2 separate regions of the Homo sapiens genome follow, and region 1 is linked to region 2. The links are contacts of gene promoters, found by promoter capture Hi-C in blood cells and fetal thymus (Javierre and others, 2016). All regions are on one chromosome and are shown on one strand. The core of a region is centred on a gene start or on the middle of the fragment in contact, and the rest is flanking DNA. Distances in the headings are between cores, read along the strand shown. Region 1 overlaps NFATC3 (nuclear factor of activated T cells 3). Region 2 holds the start of KCTD19 (potassium channel tetramerization domain containing 19).

Region 1 (4,709 bases), core at 1,841-4,340, 880 kb before region 2:
GTGATTCTCCTGCCTCAGCCTCCCTAGTAGCTGGGACTACAGGCACTCACCACCATGCCTGGCTACTTTTTGTATTTTTAGTAGAGATGGGGTTTCAACCATGTTGGCCAGGTGGGTCTCAAACTCCTGGCCTCAGGTTATCCGCCCGCCTAGGCCTCCCAAAGTGCTAGGATTACAGGCGTAAGCCACCATGCCCGCCTGGAGGAGTATTTTTTAAACTAAAGTTCACATCCATTAGAAATTTATGAAATCAATTCAGCAAGTTGAAACTAGTATTTTTTTTTTAATTTTTATTTTTTTTAATTTTTATTTATTTATTTATTTATTTTTTGAGACAGAGTCTTGCTCTGTCGCCCAGGCTGGAGTGCAGTGGCACCATCTTGGCTCGCTGCAAGCTCCACCTCCTGAGTTCACGCCATTCTCCTGCCTCAGCCTCCTGAGTACCTGGGACCACAGGTGCCCGCCACCACGCCCGGCTAATTTTTTGTATTTTTAGTAGAGACAGGGTTTCACCTTCTTAGCCAGGATGGTCTTGATCTCCTGACCTTGTGATCCACCCACCTCGGCCTCCCAAAGTGCTGGGATTATAGGCGTGAGCCACTGCACCCGGCCCCTGAAACTAGTATTTTAAAGAAGAGAAAGAAACAGGCCGGGCATGGTGGCTCACACCTGTAATCCCAGCACTTTGGGAGGCTGAGGCGGGTGGATCATGAGGTGAGGACACCGAGACCATCCTGGCTAACACGGTGAAACCCTGTCTCTACTAAAAATACAAAAAAAAAAAAAAAATCAGCCAGGCGTGGTGGCGGGCGCCTGTAGTCCCAGCTACTTGGGAGGCTGAGGCAGAAGAATGGCGTGAACCTGGGAGGTAGAGCTTGCAGTGAGCCAAGATCACGCCACTGCACTTCAGCCTGGGCAACAGAGTGAGACTCCATCTCAAAAAAAAAAAAAAAAAAAAAAGAGAAAGAAATAGAACAAAATAGAAGATAGCAGGCTGCATTCCCTCTAATAAAGGTTAAGAATTGGTTTGTGAGACTTTAACATTAGTTGTATATGTATGTATTTTTTGTGTACTGGGTCACAACATAATCCTTGTATTTTATTGTAGGAAGCTGTCAAAAATGTTTGAAAGTCACTGCACAAAAGAAGAGTCACCACTGGTCAGTTTTGCAGTACTGGCTAAAGCATTCAGATGCCCCAAGAGTCAAAAACACAATAACGAAATAGTGAGACTCCGACTCAAACAACAACAACAACAACAACTCTCATCTTTTTGCCTATAAGGAATTATTCTTGGCCTCTGTTGTACAACTTCAAGTAAAAGGACCTAACCTACTTAGAAGGGAAAAATCTGCATGTAGTCTCTATGAACACTAACTAATACCTTCCTTTTAAGCAGATAAAAAAAGAAAAACAAAGGAAGAGTCAATCTGTACAAAATGCACCCTCACTATAGGGGTCAAAACAAAACAAAATCCAGAAATCCTTTGGTTAAGCAAAATTTTTCTGACTTAAGCTTGTTTATTATTTGAGATCACTCACCTAGTTTTCAGAGGTGATTTAAAGATTACAGTGTGTGCAAAGTATTTTAAATACTGAAAATATCAAAATACTCTTTCTGGGGGTTCCCAATCTCCACAACTGAATCCTCCAAAACAGACTTGAAGGTATAGAACATGTGATTACAGGTACAGCAGCATAAAAATCATAAGAAAGCATCCCAGGAACAAAGCAAGAGGCCAACACACACTATGGGAGCTTTTGTGAGTGGATGAATTCAGTGGTACTTTCAGATTGTGCTTTACAGAAACTTGCAGTGCTCCAGAAATCCTTCTAGTTCCTTGAAGCACTTTCGTGAGCTCCAAAATATACCTCATTCATCTCTCCTGATCACAAGAACTTTGACCAAACATTTACAAAAGTGTGCCGGGCACGGTGCCTCATGCCTGTAATCCCAGCACTTTGGGAGGCCAAGGCGGGTAGATCACCTGAGGTCAGGAGTTCGAGACCAGCCTGGCCAGCATGGTGAAACCCCGTCTCTACTAAAAACACAAAAATTAGCTGGGCGTGTGGTAGATGCCTGTAATCCCAGCTACTCAGGAAGCTGAGGCAGGAGAATTGCTTGAACCTGGGAGGCGGAAGTTGCAGTGAGCTGAGATCATGCCATTGCACTCCAGACTGGGCAACAGGGTGAGACTCCGACTCAAACAACAACAACAACAACAACAACAACAAAAAACATTTACAGAAGAAGAGTTTCAGCCGGGCACAGTGGCTCACGCCTGTAATCCCAGCACTTTGGGAGGCCGAGGCGGGAGGATCACAAGGTCAGGAGATAGAAACCATCCTGGCCAACATGGTGAAACCCCGTCTCTACTAAAAATACAAAAATTAGCTGGGCATAGTGGTGAGTGCCTGTAATCCCAGCTACTCGAGAGGCTGAGGCAGGAGAATGGCGTGAACCCGGGAGGTGGAGGTTGCAGTGAGCTGAGATCGCGCCACTGCACTCCAGCCTGGCGACAGAGCGAGACTCCATCTCAAAACAAAACAAAGAAAAAAGAGTTTCGATTCTTTTGAAACTCTTAAAAAGATTAAAGAAAAGGAAACACTTCCTAACTCATTATGAGGCCAGAATTTACTCTGACACAAAGCCAGAAAAAGATACTATAAGAAAAGAAAAGGCTAGGCACAGTGGCTTACACCTGGGAGGCTAAGGTGGGTGGATCACGAGGTCAGGAGTTCGAGACCAGCCTGGCCAATATGGTGAAACCCCATCTCTACTAAAAATACAAAAAAATTAGCCGGGCATGGTGGTGCGCACTTGTAGTCCCAGCTACTCGGGAGGCTGAAGCAGAAGAATCGCTTGAACTGGGGAGGCAGAGGTTGCAGTGAGCCGAGGTCACACCACTGCATTCCTGCCTGAGCGACAGAGCAAGACTCCATCTCAAACAAACAAAAAAACAAAAAAACTACAGAATATTCTTTATGAATATAGATGCAAAAATCAACAAAACACTAACACAATTCAGCAGCATATTAAAAGGATGATACATTAAGACCAAGTGAGTTTTATTCCCAGAATGCAAGGATGATTCAACAAATGAAAATCAATTAAAGTAATATGCCAAATTAGTTGAACAAAAGAAAAAAAAACATACTCCTGACTGGCATGGGCAACATGGCAAGACCCTACCTCTACAAAAATTAATTTAAAAACCACATGATCATCTCGATAGATGCAGAAAAGTGTTTGTAAAAATTCTTTTATTTTTTTTGAGACAAGGTGTCACTCTGTCACCAAGGCTGGTGTGCAGTGGCACAATAATGGCTCACTGCAGCCTCTACCTCCCAGGCTCAAGCAATCCTCCCACTTCAGCTTCCCAAGTATTTGGGACCACAGCACCTGGCTAATTTTTTGTATTCTTTTTTTTTTTCTTTTTTTTTTTTTGAGAAGGAATCTCACTCTGTCGCCCAGGCTGGAGCGCAGTGGCATGATCTTGGCTCACTGCAAGCTCCGCCTTCCGGGTTCACGCCATTCTCCTGCCTCAGCCTCCCGAGTAGCTGGGACTACAGGTGCCCGCCACCATGCCCAGCTAATTTTTTTGTATTTTCAGTAGAGATGGAGTTTCACTGTGTTAGCCAGGATGGTCTCAATGTCCCGACCTCGTGATCCGCCCACCTCGGCCTCCCAAAGTGCTGGGATTACAGGCGCGAGCCACTGCACCTGGCCATTTTTTGTATTTTTAGCAGAGATGGGATTTCATGTTGCCCAGGCTGGTCTTGAACTCTTGGGCTCGAGCAATCTGCCCACCTCGGCCTCCCAAAGTGCTAGGACTACAGGATTGAGCCAACATGCCCAGAGTGAGTGTGACTGTGAGTGTGTGTGTGTGTGTGTCTGTGTGTGTGTTGGGGGGCAGGGGGGTTAGCCAGAGTTTTATTCGTTCATTTCTTGCATTTGAAGTACTTCAACTACTACACAACTGCAACGAACCACTTTACGGGGTTTCCCCTCTCTGTCAATTTTACAGAGACCTAACCATTCCCCCTAGCTTCTTGTCATCAACCTTAAGTAGGTTGATTTGGTGTTCAGCACAAAGAACCTCTATGAACTTGACATAGGCTCATCACAGTTGGATGCAAACACACAAAAGATGGGCCTGACCCTTCAGCAGCTTTGCAAATTCCACGTGCTAGGCCATCATGGGTGAGGACAGTCTTCAACACCTCTTGTAAAGCAGTATTAACAGCCACCACACCTCCAGCAGCAACACCTTCCGTGGCCATGGTGGTGGTCTACGGGTGAAGCTGAATCTTGAATGCACCCAAGCCTCTGCCTCCACTCAACTCAGCAGTGGCAGGGAAAGAACTCTTTTTCTTTGAGACGGTCTCACTCTGTTGCCCAGGCTGGAGTGCAGTAGCATCCCAATCACGGCTCACTGCAGCCTCCACCTCCTGGGTTCTAGCTATCTGCCCGCCTCAGCCTCCCAAAGTGCTGGTATCACAGGCGTGAGCCACCGTGCCCAACTCATTTATCAAAATTCAATGCTCTTTCAAGATGAAAACATTCAATAAACAAAGAATAGAAGGAATTTCCTCAATATGAAAAAGGCCATATATGAAAAACTGTTAGTTCCTATCATTATCAACAAAGAACAAAAGCTTTCCCCCTAAGATCACAAACAAAGCAAAGATGCCCACTCTTTCACCAC
Region 2 (4,999 bases), core at 1,389-3,888:
GCAGAGGTTGCAGTGAGCTGAGATCATGCCACTGCACTCCAGCCTGGGCAACAGAGCCAGACTCCATCTCAAAAACAAAACAAAACCAAAAAAAGAAATTACTGTTAAATTTTTTAGGTTGCATATGTGACTTTTTTTTAAAGTAATCTTAGCTTTTAAAAATACATACTGGCCAGGTGCTGTGGCTTGCACTTATAATCCCAACTCTTAGGGAGGCTGAGGTGGGTGGATCACTTGAGGTCAGGAGTTCAAGACCAGCTTGGCCAACATGGCAAAACCCTGTCACTACTGAAAATACAAAATTAGCCGGGCGTGGTGGCGGGTGCCTGTAGTCCCAGCTACTTGGGAGGCTGAGGCAGAAGAATCGCTTGAAATGCGGAGGTGGAGATTACAGTGAGCCGAGATCACGCCACTGCCCTAGAGCCTGGGTGACAGAGCAAAACTCTATCTGAAAAATAATAAAAACAATAAATAAATAAAATACTACTGAAATATTTATGGAGGAAATCACATACTTGGAATTTGCTTCAAAATAGTCAGTGTAGGGGGTTGGAGGTGGGTGGAGGATAGGTGAGGTATACGTGAAAGAAGCTTGGCCATGAATTGATGATAACTGTTGAGGTAGGCTAATAGAGTTCATTATTCTGTTATCTCTACTCTTGTATATATTTGAAAATTGCCATAATATAAAATTATAAAATAAGTGATAAATGCTTATATATGTAGAGAATATTTCTGGAAAACTATCCAAGATACTGGTAACAGTAATTGCCTTTAGGAAGGGGAACTAGGCCTATGAGACGGGGATGGGGGAGTAAAGACTTTCTTCTCACTGTACAATTTTTATTTTATTTATTTATTTTTTCGAGACGGAGTCTCACTCTGTCACCCAGGCTGGAGTGCAGTGGCGCGATCTCGGCTCACTGCAAGCTCCGCCTCCTGGGTTCACGCCATTCTCCTGCCTCAGCCTCCCGAGTAGCTGGGACTACAGGCGCCCGCCACCATGCTCCGCTAATTTTTTTTGTATTTTTAGTAGAGACGGGGTTTCACTGTGTTAGCCAGGATGGTCTCGATCTCCTGACTCGTGATCCGCCCGCCTCGGCCTCCCAGAGTGCTGGGATTACAGTCGTGAGCCACCGCGCCTGGCCCTCACTGTACAATTATTATATTACCCACAGAATAAATTAATTGAATTATTTTAACAGTCAAAATGAGTAAATATTACATATTTCCCCCCTCTACCAAATTAATCATTAGACTACCGACATGCTCTAGTATATCCTTCCTGTTCTGTTCTTGACTGCACATCATACGCTTCAGCTACCATCTATTTCTGCAGTCTCTTTTACAGCTAAAATTTTCAGCAAAAGTTCTTACTTTCACTGTCTCTTCCCCTCAAATATCATTTCCCTTTTTCATCCCACTCCAATCTGGTTTCCCTCCTCCCCACCCTCCCAAAACTCCCTCTGTCAAGGTCACCAGTAAGTTCCATGTTGCTAAATCTAACAGACACTCTGCATTTAAGTTGCTCAGCCTGTCAATAGCATTTGGCACAGTTGGCCATTGCTTGCTCGATACACTACCCCTTCTCAAATTCCAAGATACCACATTCTTCCTCTATACAACCTCTAAACACTGAAATATTCCAAGGTTGAGTCTTAAGCTTTCTTTCACTTCTCCATCGACATTCTCTCCTTAGCTGAGTTCATCCACTCCCGTAGCTTTAAATACCACCTATTGCTAATGTCTCCAAAATTTTCATCTCTAACCCTGACCTCTCCTCTGAGGTCCAGACCCATATATCCAACTGCCTACTAGGTACCTTACACTTGGATGTCTAATAGACATTTTATTATTTATTTATTTTATTTATTATTATTATTTTTGAGATGGAGTCTCGCTCTGTCGCCCAGGCTGCAGTGCAGTGGTGCGATCTCGGCTAACTGCAACCTCCGCCTCCCGGGTTCAAGCGATTCTCCTGCCTCAGCCTCCCGAGTAGCTGGGATTATAGACTTGAACCACCACGCCGGGCTAATTTTTGTATTTTAGTAGAGACGGGGTTTCACCATGTTGGCCACGCTCAGGTGATCCACCCGCCTCCGCCTCCCAAAGTGCTGGGATTACAGCGGTCAGCCACCGCCCCCCGCAGTTCTGTCACCTGCGGCAGGGTCCCCTGTTAACCTTGTTTCTCCTTCCCTACTTCACACTCCCCTCTTCTCTCTCAATTCCTCGGGCTCTGCCCCACACCCTCCCGTTACTTCAGTTCCTCCACCTCCACCTCCCTCTAACCTTCTGCCTCAAGTTATCCCCCCGCCCCCCAGCCTCAGGTACCGCTTCTCTGTGGTTCCCTCGCCTCTATCTCAGGTTCCCCGCCTTCCACTTCAGTTTTCTTTCCACAGCTTCTGACCCTACGTTCCCAGTCCACACCCTCCCGGCCAGACCCTACCCGGCTGCTCCAGCGTCAGCGCCCCCAGGCGGCGAATGCCTTCCTCGTCCAGCTCCCATTGCTCCGCCATCCCCGCCCGCCGCTCACCTGCCACCGCCCGCGAGACCACCCGGCGCACGCCAGGCCCCGCCCACTGCCCCGCCCCCCGCGCGCGCGCCGCCGCGACCCCGGGAACCGTTATTGGCCGGGTCACAAGCCCGCCCGCCCGCTGCTGGAGCCGCGACCATGGTACGGAGCCCGCTCTGGCGGGGGCGCCAAAAGCACCAAAGCGGCGAATGGGGGCCGCTGTGGCCAAGGATTGGGGCTAAGTGGTTCGAGACCTGGCTCTGGGGCATGGGAGAGAGCGAGGGGCCCCCAGCCGGGAAGGATTTGGGGGGCTGGCTCTGAGGAGTTAGAATAACGCTCTGTCTTGAGGGATGAAGTGTTCTGGCTCTGAGGATGTGGGGGACTCCGGTTCTGAGGGCTGGGCGTGTGCCCCTTTGACGGGGTGGTCTTCATATCTCAGCGCTGGGGGATGCTGACTTTGGGGCAAGGCGAGGGTGTGTGTGAAGGGGAGATCCAAATCTGAAGGATTGGAGCGTGGGGACAGAACTCTAAGGCATGATGGGGAGCTCCAGATCTGAAAGGTTGGGAATCCTGGCTCTGAGGAGTTGGGGTCCTGTCTTTAGAGCATGAGGAAGTTCTAGCTCTAGAAATTGACTTGGACGGGCTGGGCGCGGTGTCTCACGCCTGTAATCCCAGCACTTTGGGAGCCCGAGGTGGGCGGATCACCTGAGGTCAAGAGTTCAAGACCAGCCTGGCCAACATGGTGAAACCCCATCTCTACTAAAAATACAAAAATTAGCCGGGTGTGGTGGCACGGCCTGTAGTCCCAGCTACTCGGGAGGCTGAGGCAGGAGAATCGCTTGAACCCGGGAGGTGGAGGTTGCAGTGAACCGAGATTGCACCACTGCACTCCAGCCTGGGCGACCTGAGTGACAGAGCCAGACCTTGTCTCAAAAAAAAAAAAAAAAAAAAGGTAAGAAATTTACTTGGACGGAGCTTCTTCGGGGGAGAAGGATCAGCGTGGGAAAGAGAGAAGCTCTTTGTAATGGGGTGGGGATGACTGCTTTAGGGCTACCCCGTTTCCTGAAGTCAGTCCGGCAAGAAGCCTTTTGTCTTTCAAGCACCACAGGTTCCCCTAAGCTTGCCTGTGACTGAGGGCTGTCGCCAGGCTGCGATAGCTCTGCACTAACCAGCCCCTGAGTAGTCTTTGGGAAAGAACAGCCGCATCCCTAACCCCTACCCTCACTCCAGCAGGCACTTAAGAGCCCACCTGTGGATGGGACATGTATGTAAGAAGGAGCCAGGACCCTCTTGTCACACCCTATCCTTAACAAGAAAAGAGGGTGGGCTGGGCGTGGTGGCTCACGTCTGTAATCCCAGCACTTTGGGAGGCCGAAGCATGTGGATCACGAGGTCAGGAGATCGAGACCATCCTGGCTAACACAGTGAAACCCCATCTCTACTAAAAATACAAAAATAAAACAAAATAAAATAAAATAAAATAAAATAAAGCCGGGCGTGGTGGCGGGCGCCTGTAGTCCCAGCTACTTGAGGAGGCTGGAGGCTGAGGCAGGAGAATGGCGTAAACCCGGGAGGTGGAGCTTGCAGTGAGCCAAAATCGTGCCACTGCACTCCAGCCTGGGCTAGAGAGCGAGACTCCGTCTCAAAAAAAAAAAAAAAGAAAAAAAGAAAAAAAGAAAAAAAAGAAAGAAAGAAAAGAGGAACTGAGACCAGAACTGGGGCTCACCTTCGAGAAGTAGGTTTTCTTTGGCATCCAACATCTGCACACTCTGAGCACCCCCATTGAGCTCTCAGCCACCTTTAAGGAGAACAGAAAGCAGAATCAAGGGTCCTTCCTTGCATATTTATGCTTTCTGGTCTATGTGAGACCCTTAGTCACTCCATTTGTTACATTCAGCCTTTGCCTGAACATGAACTTGTAGAAAGGCTTTTAGAAGGGCTGGGACTTAGAATTCTAGGTTAGCTCATTAGATTGACTTTTCTGGCTCTGCTTCTGTCAGTTATGCAATCATTTCACAATTTGTCATATTTCTCTTATTACCCCCTTTAACTCTTCTAGTCTCAAATGTGGCATATATAATTGCTCTTCTTTATGTCTGAATATTGCTGTGGGAGAGATGGACCCCATCCCATTCTTTCTTGCATGCATTTATTTTCCTTCCTCAGCTGTCAGAATGGGAAATGCAGGTTCTTTCTGGAGCAGGGAGCTTTTCCTTTCTTAAGTAATCACCTCTTACTTTAACACTGTTTTTCCCCCACGAACGTCTTAATGCAATTTTATAAACACAGAAAGATTGAAAGAATTGTACAGTGAGCACCATATATCCACCACCTGCATTCTACAATCAACATTTTGCTCATATTTGTTTTATCACATGTCCATCTAGCAATCCTATCTGTCCATCAATCTGTCTTTTTTAAATTCATCTCAAAATAAATTGCAGATATCAGTACATTGCAGTCCAATCACTTCAGCCTGCATAATTT

The links. The method cuts DNA at HindIII sites, captures the fragments that hold promoters and counts their contacts. A CHiCAGO score of 5 or more calls a contact.
Region 1: a contact is called between a fragment that was not itself captured here and the fragment with the promoter of KCTD19 in region 2, in 1 of 17 cell types (neutrophils). The highest score is 5.0, in neutrophils.

What each region holds. Positions count from the first base shown.
Region 1 is chr16:68,209,037-68,213,745 of GRCh38, reverse strand. All of the region lies in intron 9 of NFATC3 (nuclear factor of activated T cells 3), which reads right to left. It also overlaps the pseudogene RPS12P27. Among named protein-coding and RNA genes, the nearest start is that of MIR6773, 22 kb to the left of the region's middle. RefSeq lists an enhancer at 2,533-2,602. The HindIII fragment of the contact is 3,143 bases long and covers 1,519-4,661 here.
Region 2 is chr16:67,324,380-67,329,378 of GRCh38, reverse strand. It overlaps KCTD19 (potassium channel tetramerization domain containing 19), which reads left to right and starts at 2,638. Exons shown (of 16, transcript NM_001100915.3): 1 at 2,638-2,674. The coding sequence starts at 2,672. LRRC36 (leucine rich repeat containing 36) reads right to left here and starts at 2,564. Exons shown (of 14, transcript NM_018296.6): 1 at 2,447-2,564. The coding sequence starts at 2,516. RefSeq lists a silencer at 2,522-2,671 and an enhancer at 4,427-4,506. The HindIII fragment of the contact is 1,968 bases long and covers 1,666-3,633 here.